Regions from separate parts of the Homo sapiens genome. Here regions 1 and 3 are each linked to region 2. The links are contacts of gene promoters, found by promoter capture Hi-C in blood cells and fetal thymus (Javierre and others, 2016). All regions are on one chromosome and are shown on one strand. Each heading gives the region's core, a stretch centred on a gene start or on the middle of the fragment in contact. The rest is flanking DNA. Distances are from core to core; before and after follow the strand shown.

Region 1 (3,513 bases), core at 940-3,439, 510 kb before region 2:
TCTCCACATAGCGAGAAAAATGTTCTTGAACTAGATAGTGATGATGATTGCACAGTAGTATCATGAATATACTAAATACTACTAAATTGTATACTTTAAAGTAATTAAAATGATAAATTTTATTTTACATGTATTTTATCACAATAAAAAATCACATTGCTAACCTGAATAAAATTCAAGTTTTATATATATATATATATATATATATATATATATATATATATATATATATATTTTCCTGTAGTACATATTGACATAAACATAAAAGCAGGAAAACATAAAAGCAAATGAGTTTGCCATCTGAAATAATCACATGAGCCCCCACTGACACCCTTTGGGAAACATTGATTTAAAGGTTTAATGAAATATCATTGAATGTAGAGATCCTGATCCATATCTCAAAGCTACCACTTATTGTCTGTGTGATCTTAACATTTCTAAATCTAAGATTCCTTATTGTAAAATCAGGATCATACAGCCATGCACTGCATAATGATATTTTAGTCCACAAAGGACCACATATTTGGTGGTGGTCCTATAAGATTTTAATGCCACAATTTTGCTGTACTCTATGTTTAAATATGTTTAGATAAACAAATACTTGCCATTGTATTGCAGTTGCCTACAGTATTCAGTACAGTAACATGCTGCACAGGTTTATAGCCTAGGTGTGTAGTAGGCTATACCGTCTAGGTTTGATGTTTGCATAATGATGAAATTGCCTAACAGCTGCATTTCTCAGAGTGTATCCCCATTGTTACACGATGCATGACTGTGTAAGTACCTGCCTTATAAGTATCTTTTGAGAATTAAATGGAATAATTTACATAACACTTTTAGAAGCCAGGCTGTCACTTAATACGAATTCAAGAAGTGATAACTACCTTTATAACATTTAATATTATTATTATTTTAATTATCAGTACCAACTCCATCTGTTTACAGAGGAGGGTTCATCATAGGCCTGTAATGTGCATTTTCTGGAATTTTTACCTCTTCAAAATTTTGCCAACTGGAGCACTGAGGGGAAAATTTACAAATCAGTATTAAGTAATGGATTTTTTGTTTGTTTGTTTGTTTTTGAGACGGAGTCTCGCTCTGTTGCCCAGGCTGGAGTGCAGTGGTACAATCTCAGCTCACTGCAACTTACGCCTCCCAGGTTCAAGTGATTCTCCTGCCTCAGCCTCCCAAGTAGCTGGGACTACAGGCATGTGCCACCATGCCCAAATTTTTGTATTTTTAGTAGAGATGGGGTTTCACCATGTTGGCCAGGATGGGCTCCAACTCCTGACCTCAGGCGATCTGCTCACCTTGGCCTCCCAAAGTGCTGGGATTACAAGCATGAGCCCCCTTGCCCGGCCTAAGTAATGGTTTTTAAATCAGCTGAGAAATTCCCACATTAGGCCCTTTAGGTAAGGAAGATACGGATCTTCCCAAGCAGATGTGGATCATCTTCAGTCAAGGACGTACCAAGAGCCTAGATTTTCCAGGGAGGAGGCAATCTGTTTATCTTAAGCTCAGCCTGATTGCGAAAACCTGTTGTAAGAGGCCAGCAGTGCAGAAAGTGAGACCAGAAGCCTATGGAGGAAGGCTGTGAGCTTTTCCTACCACATCTCCACTGTATTACCCACAAGACATCAGAGAGGCTGCAAGACTGAGGCTTTCACATTCTTGTGGGTCCTGCTTTTTCTCTGTGGTAAAGAACCTGCAGAAAGCAATGCCTCTACTCAGACAAGCTGTCCATTCCTTCCCCATATCAGACAGAAGTGAATCTGATGGGAAAGAATCTCTCAGATTGGGATCATTTTCTCCCTTCCTGCAAAACTCTTTTCCCATTTCCCTCCCCTTCTTTGGGCTATAGCATGAGGTAAGCTTCCTCAAGTTCATGCTAACAAACATAAAAATGCATTAAACAATTTATGTATGTGTGAACGTGCACACACATGCATGCACACATTCAGTCCATAAGCAGATACTCAAATCGAGGAATTAGAAAACCTGACCTCACTGAGATCTAACCTGTTGAAATAGTATTTAATTACCATTTTTTCAAAAACTTTAGACATTATGGCAGAGGAGCAAAGAAATCCTTACCTCATGGTTGCTGTAAATTAGGCAGCCGTTCTGCAGGGTTTTGCTTAGCCAGGCTCCTCTGAGATCTGGCTATTCTGTCTTGTGGATTTTCAGTTACGTTTAAACCCCAAGACAGTGTTATATAAGGGAGCTAAACAGCAGCCAATGGTGTAAGCTGTGGGTGTGTCCTTGCAAGTTGGAAACCTAGGGAAACCGAAAGGGGAAAGTGAAACTAAAGCTAGCGGAATTCCTGCTGACGGGGGGGGGTGGGGAATGAAACTTTGTTTCTATTTTAAAACAGATAAACTGCAGACCTGCAACCATAGATGTTTCTAGTGCTGCAGAAACCCAATGACTGGCCAGCATTTGGAACGAGATTCACGTCCTCCCTAAAGAACATCAGTCCATTGCTGCCTATTGTGGCAGTTGGTGGCTGGATTCTGGATGAATACACAGAAAAAGGAGAATTGAAGGAGATAGCTCTATTTTCAGTTTCTATATTTAGAAGGAACCTACTATCAAATATAAAAATCTACTCTTAATTAATTGAGTAACAAGGCTTTTGGTTGCTGGTTGCTTTTTGGTTGCTTACTTTTGGTTTCAGCTTGACGGAAATAAGCAACCAATCTGGTTTAGGAATGAAGGAAAGAGACCAATACCTAGAAAGCCTTCTAACCCCTGATGACTTAGGCAGGAGGTAAAAGCAAGGAGGTATGGTTTGAAATAGAGAGCCCTCTATTGCTCCATCATGGACACTGTCATTCTGAATCAAATTCCAGTACAACCTCCACTACAGTTCATGGAATTTGAGTTTAAATAGTTAGCAACTACCTGGCACATAGAAGCATGCAAATAAGTGGTAACTATTATTATTATTATTTTCAGTCATCAAGTTAAAAATAATGATTCTTGGCTGGGTGCGGTGGCTCATGCCTGTAGTCCCAGCACTTTGGGAGGCCAAGGTGGGCGGATGACAAGGTCAGGAGATGGAGACCATCGTGGCCAACATGGTGAAACCCCCTCTCTACTAAAATACAAAAAATTAGCTGGGTGTGGTGGTGTGCACCTGTAGTCCCACCTACTCGAGAGGCTGAGGCAGGGGAATTGCTTGAACCTGGGAGGCAGAGGTTGCAGTGAGCCGAGATCACACCACTGTACTCCAGTCTGGTGACAGAGCGAGACTCCGTCTAAAAAAATAAATAAATAAAAAATAAAAAATTGTTGTCCGGGTGCATTGGCTCAGGCCTGTAAGTCCCAGTATTTTGGAAGGCAAGGCGGGAGGATCACTTGAGCCCAGGAATTGTAGACCAGCCTGGACAACATAGGGAGACCCCAACTCTACAAAAAAACTGAAAAAAAAAGCTGGGTGTGGTGGTGTGTGTCTGTGGTCTCAGCTACTCAGGAGGCTGAGGTGGGAGGCTCACTTGAGCCCAGGAGGTA
Region 2 (3,378 bases), core at 81-2,580:
TCTATTATGTCTTCGGAAATAGCTTAAAATCCAGGACTTCATGTTATTGTCAGTAATGAGCAAGATGTTTGGAAAGCAGTGTGCTCACTGGGGCTTACTTTGAAAGCTGTCTTTTTTACTTACTACCGAACACTGATTTCCAGGAAGCAAGCCACCCCACCCCACTTCCCAGGCACTTGATTTTTTTTTTCAAACCTCTAGATTGGGTTCCGTTTCCTGAATTACTTATTCCTTACATAAATTTTCTTTTAAACTTCAGCAATTATGGCACCTTAGGCTCTGGGGGTATCAGCAGCGTGGGTTGTTTTAGAGAAAGTTCTGAAAAAAATATGTTTTGGAGACATTCCATTTCTTTGTGCATCTCACTGGGGGCTTTCAGCGAAAGCTTTAAGTTATTCAGGTGAGGGGCAATGTCTTAGTCGCTCATAAAGGGCATAAAAGTAACATCATCTGGAAAGGCATGGCACCTGCTCGGCCGGGGTAAAGGTCCGTTTTTCTAACCCTCGCCCCTCCCTCCTCCACACCGCGCCGCTAGAGACAGTGCAGTGGTCTCTCCCAAGGTCGACATCATCTCCAAGGCTGCAACCCAGGGCTGAACCAAAAAAACAGGCGCACCCACGTATAGGTCACGGCCAGAGTCCCGCCCTGCCACCAGCAGCCAGGTCTTCCTGCCTCCCTATCAAGGTGAAACTAACCCAGAGGGCCCAGCGGAGGGGCGCATACAGGCGGCGCCGATGGAGGCGGCCGATTGCATGACTGGCAGGAAGGAAGCGATCAGCCGCCAAAGTGCATTTTTTCCTCCCCTAGAGCCAGCCCGGGACCGGACGCTGCCAGCGGAAGGGCCGGCGCGCGCCAGGCCACGAGGCAGACGCACCCGCCGTGCGCACTTCCCCGTCCGGTGCGCGCTCTCACTCACGCGCGCGCGCCGCTACTCACTAGCAACCCTTGGTGTCCGCAGCCCGTGTGGGACGGCGACTGCGACGGCTGCCCCCGTGGCTGCCGTGTGGCCTTGGCATCCGTCCGGCTGCTGCAACCCGGGCCGCGGTGGCTTTTGCTGGAAGGCGTTGCAGCGGGGTGATACCGGCACCCGGCGACGAGGCGTCCGCTCGTTTGCCTCGGCCGTGCCTCCTCCCCCTTCTCCTCTGCCGACAGATGGAGCTTTGCTGGTTCCAGTCGCGCGGGCTCCGTGCGTCGTTCTCCTCCTCGCTGTCGGACACCCCAGCGCAGGGGACGAACAGCGTCCTCGCAAGCCCACGCGCAGGCCGGCCGACCCCGAACCTGCAGCAACCGTCCCTGCTGCCGCTGCTGCAGGAAAATAAATTGTCACTGCGATGGTCCCGGCCTCCCCTGCCCCGGCCCCTGGGTGCCGCCTCCGCCTCTGCCTCCGCCCCCTCCTCTGTGGCGGCGGCGGCGGCTTCCCGCATTCTGCAGAAAAAGCTCGCAGGTGGAAGGAAGCAGGGCCCCTGCGGATGGCCTAGAGCCCGAGTGAAGCGGTTGGGTGCGACTTTCGCATCTGAAACCCTGCACGTCTTCTCCCCAGACCGGAACCACCTAAACTCCCTTTTGCTCCACCATCAATTTCACCGAGATGGACAGGAGTGGTGCCTTTTAAGACTGCACAGTACACAAGCCTTGATGCAGCTGACCGTTAAACTGTCACTGGAGTCTGGGGAAGGATAGGGTTTTGGTGAAAATCCCACTTATACTTCATGTTAGGATTCCCTTTTTGATATTTATCCACAACTGGCTACGCCCACTATTAAGCATCTTAGCCCTTCCCCCTACCCCCAATTTGTGTGTACTTGGAAAATAAGAAGTATTAGAATATCTCCTGGATGTTATGTTACTATCACGTGTGGTGTTCTTACTACAGTTCTGGCACTGTGTCAGGCAGTCGGTACACAAAATCTTAGTCCATCTGCCACAACCCTGTATATAAAAGGGACTCATTTTTTGTTTTTGTTTTTGTTTTTTCCATGAACGAGAGACAGAGAAGTAAAATAATTTATCCCAGGTTACTCACCTAGAAAGCAGTAGAAGCTGAAATTTAAACTCTGATCCAACACTGAAAGCTGTTTCTATTGGCTTCACAGGTTCTATTAACTGATAAACATTTTATGGAGACTGCTGCTGCTGGATGAAATAGAGTCGCTTTTCTTGAGCTTGGTTGGGAGCTTACTTCCAAGTGAGAGAAATGGCTGCAGAGTGGGGTGGGGAAACACTGGCTTTTCTTAGTTAGCCTTTCCTCTGGAAACCAAAATTCTAGCCCTGGCTCAGCCACCAACTGAGTTATTTGGTCTCAAGCATTTCACCTTCTTAAGCCTCATCTCCCTGGATTCTTTTTTTTTTTTTAAATGAAGAGTTTGATTGTTGGAGGCAGCCTGCAGCCTTGATTTTTAAGAAGCAACAGTGTTGTTTTGCTTAGTTTTAAGTTGGTTCCAAATGTTGAAGTTAGGAAATTTCACAGAAATTCAGACTTTTCACATTTTCTGTAAAATCGTAACATCAGACATTTGGTCCATGGCGAGTTCTAGCAACCATCAGCTGAAGCTGAATAGCAGGTGTCGCCTTTAGACTGTGAAGACACTCTTCAGTTTTCCACAGTCCCCACCACTCCCATACACCCCCACCTCACTGACATTTGAGAATATGGTAGGCATTTGAGTTTGCAGTATTGAACCAGATAATCTCATGACCTACTGGACAATTTAAAATTCAGTGGTAATTAAGAAGGTTAGCCAGATTCCTAAAAAGCATTATGAAACAAAAAATTCCACGTACGTATTTAGAGTGGTCATTGATCATGGTCTTGCTATCTAGCATCCAAATTCTCATAAAAGCCAAAATGGCCCAATACCCATCGTCCCCTGCTCCCCAGCGGCTAGAGTACCATTTTGTGACCCAACATCAGCCTCAGAGACTCCTGTACAGTTATTTGAATCTGGATTATGTGTTTCAAGAAGAAACATTTTAGAAATGTCTCCATTATCTGTGAAGTGGGTTTTGTGTTCAGGGACAGTAGTGCCAGAGGTAACACTGCGGCAATGTCAGTGGTGTCCTAAGTGAGCTATTTGAATGGTGTGATGACCCACCTGTTGTAATTTCAGCTGCTAAGCTTCCCTTCCTGTGTAAGGAGACTTATTTGCCAAACTTCCTGTCTCTTTGGTATGCTACTTAACGACTTTCCAATATATTTCTCTTCTGATTCAGTTAGCCAGAAATGATTTCAGCGTTGTGACCAAGAACTCTGATATAGCAACTTTAGGTGTGATTTATTTCCCTTTTATTAATTGAGTTAATGAAGAGCAAGCACCAGTGTATTTATACAACTTTTATCTTAGAGAATTTTTAAGTGACCTATAGTTTTACTTGCATTTT
Region 3 (3,521 bases), core at 912-3,411, 540 kb before region 2:
GAACTTAGGATTTCCTGGGTTAAGCCTATTAGCCTAATTAATTTTATTCCATTTATACTTACTTTTCACATGTCCATCAGTAGCTCCCAAACTTTGCTGCACAAGTTCCAACTGGGAAATCTAAAAATCATGATGCCTGGACTGCACCCCATGCCAATTAAGTCATTCTCTATGGGGCGGGACCCAGACATCCATGTTTTGTTTTAACTTTTTAGGTGATTCCAATACGTAGCCAAGTTTGAGGAACAATGCTGTAGACCTTACTACTCAAAATGTAATTAGAACAGCCACAGCATCCTCACCTAGGAGGAGCTTGTTTAAAGTGCAGAAATCTCAGGCCCCTTCTGTGTATGAACACAGCCCTGATTTATAAAAACAAGTTAACTGATGAAGCAAATAATCTTTTCTATGAACTGATGAAGCAAATAATCTTTTCTATGATTAACTGTCTGAGTAACCGCTTAATGTGAGTTCTTTTAATTATGTGGCAAGTGATAGAAGTTATGTACTTTCAGGTGGGAGAAATGGCCTGCTTTGCTAGAATATCCTAAAATATCTGAAAGGGACAAATGTGTCTACTGATAGGTCAGGACTTCAGTGCTGACTTTCTGAAATTCTTGAGTAAAGATCATTCCCTTCCTTGTTCTTCCTTAATAGATCAAACAAAATAATAATAATAATAAAAACAGAATTAAGTAAAACAAAAGATTTTTAAAAATTAATACGTGAGATACACTGCAGTATATATGTATGTCTGATTACGCATAGAAAAAAGATCTGGAAGTTTACATATCAAATTATAAGTTATAAGTTTACCTTGAGGGTGTGGAACTGTGGTAGGGTGAGAGGACTGCTCTCATTTTTAAATTCACATACTTTTGTAATTTTTTTTTGAAATTTACAGTGAGAATTCATTATTTTTATAATAATCAAACCATAATAGAAATTTTAAAGATGATAAAAAACAAAAAGTAAAACACACACACATACATAATAATTTTAAGAGTTACATTGGAGGAATGGAGAATTAAATCACATGGTACTTTTCCACTAATACTGTGATGGTACATAATTGTGTAGTCGGTAATCAAAGAAACTACATTAGAGAAGCCACATTAAGTAACATCCGAATTAAAAAGTCCCCTGGGATAAGAGCCCTCAAGCAGCGACCCCTCAAGGTGGATATTAAAACTGAAAGCAGTGCTTAACTCTTCCTGGAGTATCTACATGAAAAAAACAACATTCTGAAAATTTCACATTAAAAAAAAAGCTTCATAGAAGTCACTTTGAAATGCTAAAATAGCCAAAGGCCAGAAATTGAGGGTATAAAAACTCCATTCAGAACAGATTCAAAACTAGTACACTGAAACCTTGGTAATCTATGGGTGTAGGTTAGGGACATCTTCTTTTTCCATTTGTTTATCATTTCTCCCAATTTCCCAATGGCTGCTTTATATCTCAATAATTTTAACCTAAAAATATTGTAATTTTAGTTGGAAGGAATAAAATTAATTGCATCTAGATTCATTGCAGATTTGTTTTAGTTAAAAAAAAAAAGAGAACAATTTGAGACTCACTATTTTCCATTATTCATTTTTTTCCACATAATTATTTCTAGCTACTTAATAAACATTTGGGGATTGAATCCCTGAAGTTACATATTTAAAATTTGAGGAAATCCTTTTTCTCCTCTTCTAGTTTTTTCTTTATTGAAGTCACTAGAGATGACAAACTTTTTTATTATAAACTTTTTTCCAACAAAAAAGATATTTTAGGTGACTATTAGATTGATAGCTAAATATCCTCATCAAAGTCAAAACATCTGTAACTAAAAAGTGCTGTCTTTTGCAAGCTACACAATTAAGAGCTTAACTATCAATAATGTAATTTTGTACTCCTGGAAGAGTATTCCTGATCTAGGTATCAAAGGTTTACGTAGGAATATATTTACTATATAATATGAGAAATTCAAAGAGCAGAGATAAAAAGCACAGATCTAATGGCCATACCATTTTTAGAAGTTACAATAGCTAGAATATTGCTATTTCTCAATGGATTATAGTATTTTAATTAAAAAGAAAAAAAGAAAGAAAACCGCACAAGATTCATCATAATGCATATAAAGTATTTAGCACAATGCTTGGTACACAATAACTATTCAATAAATATTAGCTCTATAATAAACAAGGGATTAAAATAATAAAAAAAAAACAAACAGGAGAACCCAAAATGAAGGGAAAAACTTAGAGCTAATTTCCTAGAGTATGTATTTAAATGGAAAGTCGGAGCTCACAGAGAGCAGTCAGGAATTCTGCATTTTCTGGATCTATCTTTTGTGCCTTCTCATAGTACTCAGCAGCTTGCCTCTTTTCTCCTTCCAGCTTGTAAACAAACCCTAGGGCACTTAAACTCTGCACATCTAAAGCATTGTGACAAAGTCTCTTGGTAGACAATTTCTTCAGAGCACTTGTCAGTTTGGTGCGAAGGGGTGATCTGTCTTTGACCTTTAAGGCTTCTAAATAATGATGGATGGCAGTATTTTCTGATTTACGGTGAAATTCCTGAAAGCGGCCATAGTGGTAATGGATCTGATGTTTGTGATCATCGGTTATGTTCTCCAGACGAAGAGCTTTCCGGAAAATGTCCTCAGCATTGCTATACTGGCCTCCTTCAGCGTACATGTTGGCCAGGTCTGTGTAGGCAAATGCAAACATAGAGTCTCGTTCCATGGCTGCTTTGAAATGAAATATAGCAGATGAAATCAGCTCATCAACCTTTAGTTTATCCTTTCCTTTAGGTCTGTTGTGTGTGGCCTTCTTGATTTGGATCATTTGTGCCCTGTAGCAAAGTCCCATCTGGTGATGCAGGAAAGAAGAAGTTGGTGTCACCTCCAAGGCCTTTTTTAAAAGTTCGAGAGCTTTGTTCCAGGAATTTTTTCTCCTATAGAACTTGGCTGCATAACGAAGGACGTAAGGCTGGGATGATATTTGGTCCAGGATTTCTTCAATATACTTTTCCCCTTCAGCTTCTGCATGTACATCTTGAAGCTTCAGTGCCAGAAAAACCTTAATATAGCTGTTATCTGGGTTCAGGGTAACAGCCTTTCTCAAAGGCCCCAGAGAAAAGCTCTTTACAGACCCTTCTCTATCAGAATCATCCAGCCGATACACTGTGATAGCATAGCCGATGTTAAATTCTGGATTGTCAGGCTCCACTTCCAGAGCCTTCTCAAAAGCCGCTTTAGCCTTTTGATAATACTTTCCTCCAAATTTCAAGAGTGCCCAGCCTTTCTCACAGTCAGTCTCAGGACACTCCAACTTGTAGTTAGAAGGACTGGACAATTTCTTACAGACATTCCCTATCTTACCTGTATACTTCTGAGCTTCTTCAAGCTGGTCCATGTGATAATACACCCAGGCATAGTTTCCCCAAGTGACCAGGCTTCGTACTTCTTCTTTGTCTGAGTGTTCTTGCTGGATTATTTCTTCTGCTTGTTCCAAGCACTCAAGGGCGTCTTTATT

What was found. Contacts are between HindIII fragments. The CHiCAGO score rates a contact against its expected background, and 5 or more counts as called.
Region 1: the fragment with the promoter of IFIT1 here is called in contact with the fragment with the promoter of STAMBPL1 in region 2 in 1 of 17 cell types (activated CD4 T cells); the score reaches 5.3 in activated CD4 T cells.
Region 3: a fragment that was not itself captured here is called in contact with the fragment with the promoter of STAMBPL1 in region 2 in 1 of 17 cell types (non-activated CD4 T cells); the score reaches 5.1 in non-activated CD4 T cells.

Annotation. Positions count from the first base shown.
Region 1 is chr10:89,391,299-89,394,811 of GRCh38, reverse strand. It overlaps IFIT1 (interferon induced protein with tetratricopeptide repeats 1), which reads right to left and starts at 2,189. Exons shown (of 2, transcript NM_001548.5): 1 at 2,095-2,189. The coding sequence starts at 2,099. It also overlaps a transcript of LIPA not described here. RefSeq lists enhancers at 1,460-1,509, 2,311-2,360, 2,591-2,640 and a silencer at 3,193-3,354. The HindIII fragment of the contact is 1,915 bases long and covers 1,875-3,513 here.
Region 2 is chr10:88,878,197-88,881,574 of GRCh38, reverse strand. STAMBPL1 (STAM binding protein like 1) reads right to left here and starts at 1,330. Exons shown (of 11, transcript NM_020799.4): 1 at 937-1,330. LOC124902551 reads left to right here and starts at 911. Exons shown (of 1, transcript XM_047426134.1): 1 at 911-1,841. The coding sequence starts at 1,153. The coding sequence ends at 1,680. RefSeq lists an enhancer at 622-731 and a silencer at 1,312-1,441. The HindIII fragment of the contact is 2,730 bases long and covers 388-3,117 here.
Region 3 is chr10:89,417,398-89,420,918 of GRCh38, reverse strand. IFIT5 (interferon induced protein with tetratricopeptide repeats 5) reads right to left here. Exons shown (of 2, transcript NM_012420.3): 2 at 1-3,521. The coding sequence ends at 2,271. Among named protein-coding and RNA genes, the nearest start is that of IFIT5, 4.6 kb to the right of the region's middle. The HindIII fragment of the contact is 1,777 bases long and covers 1,273-3,049 here.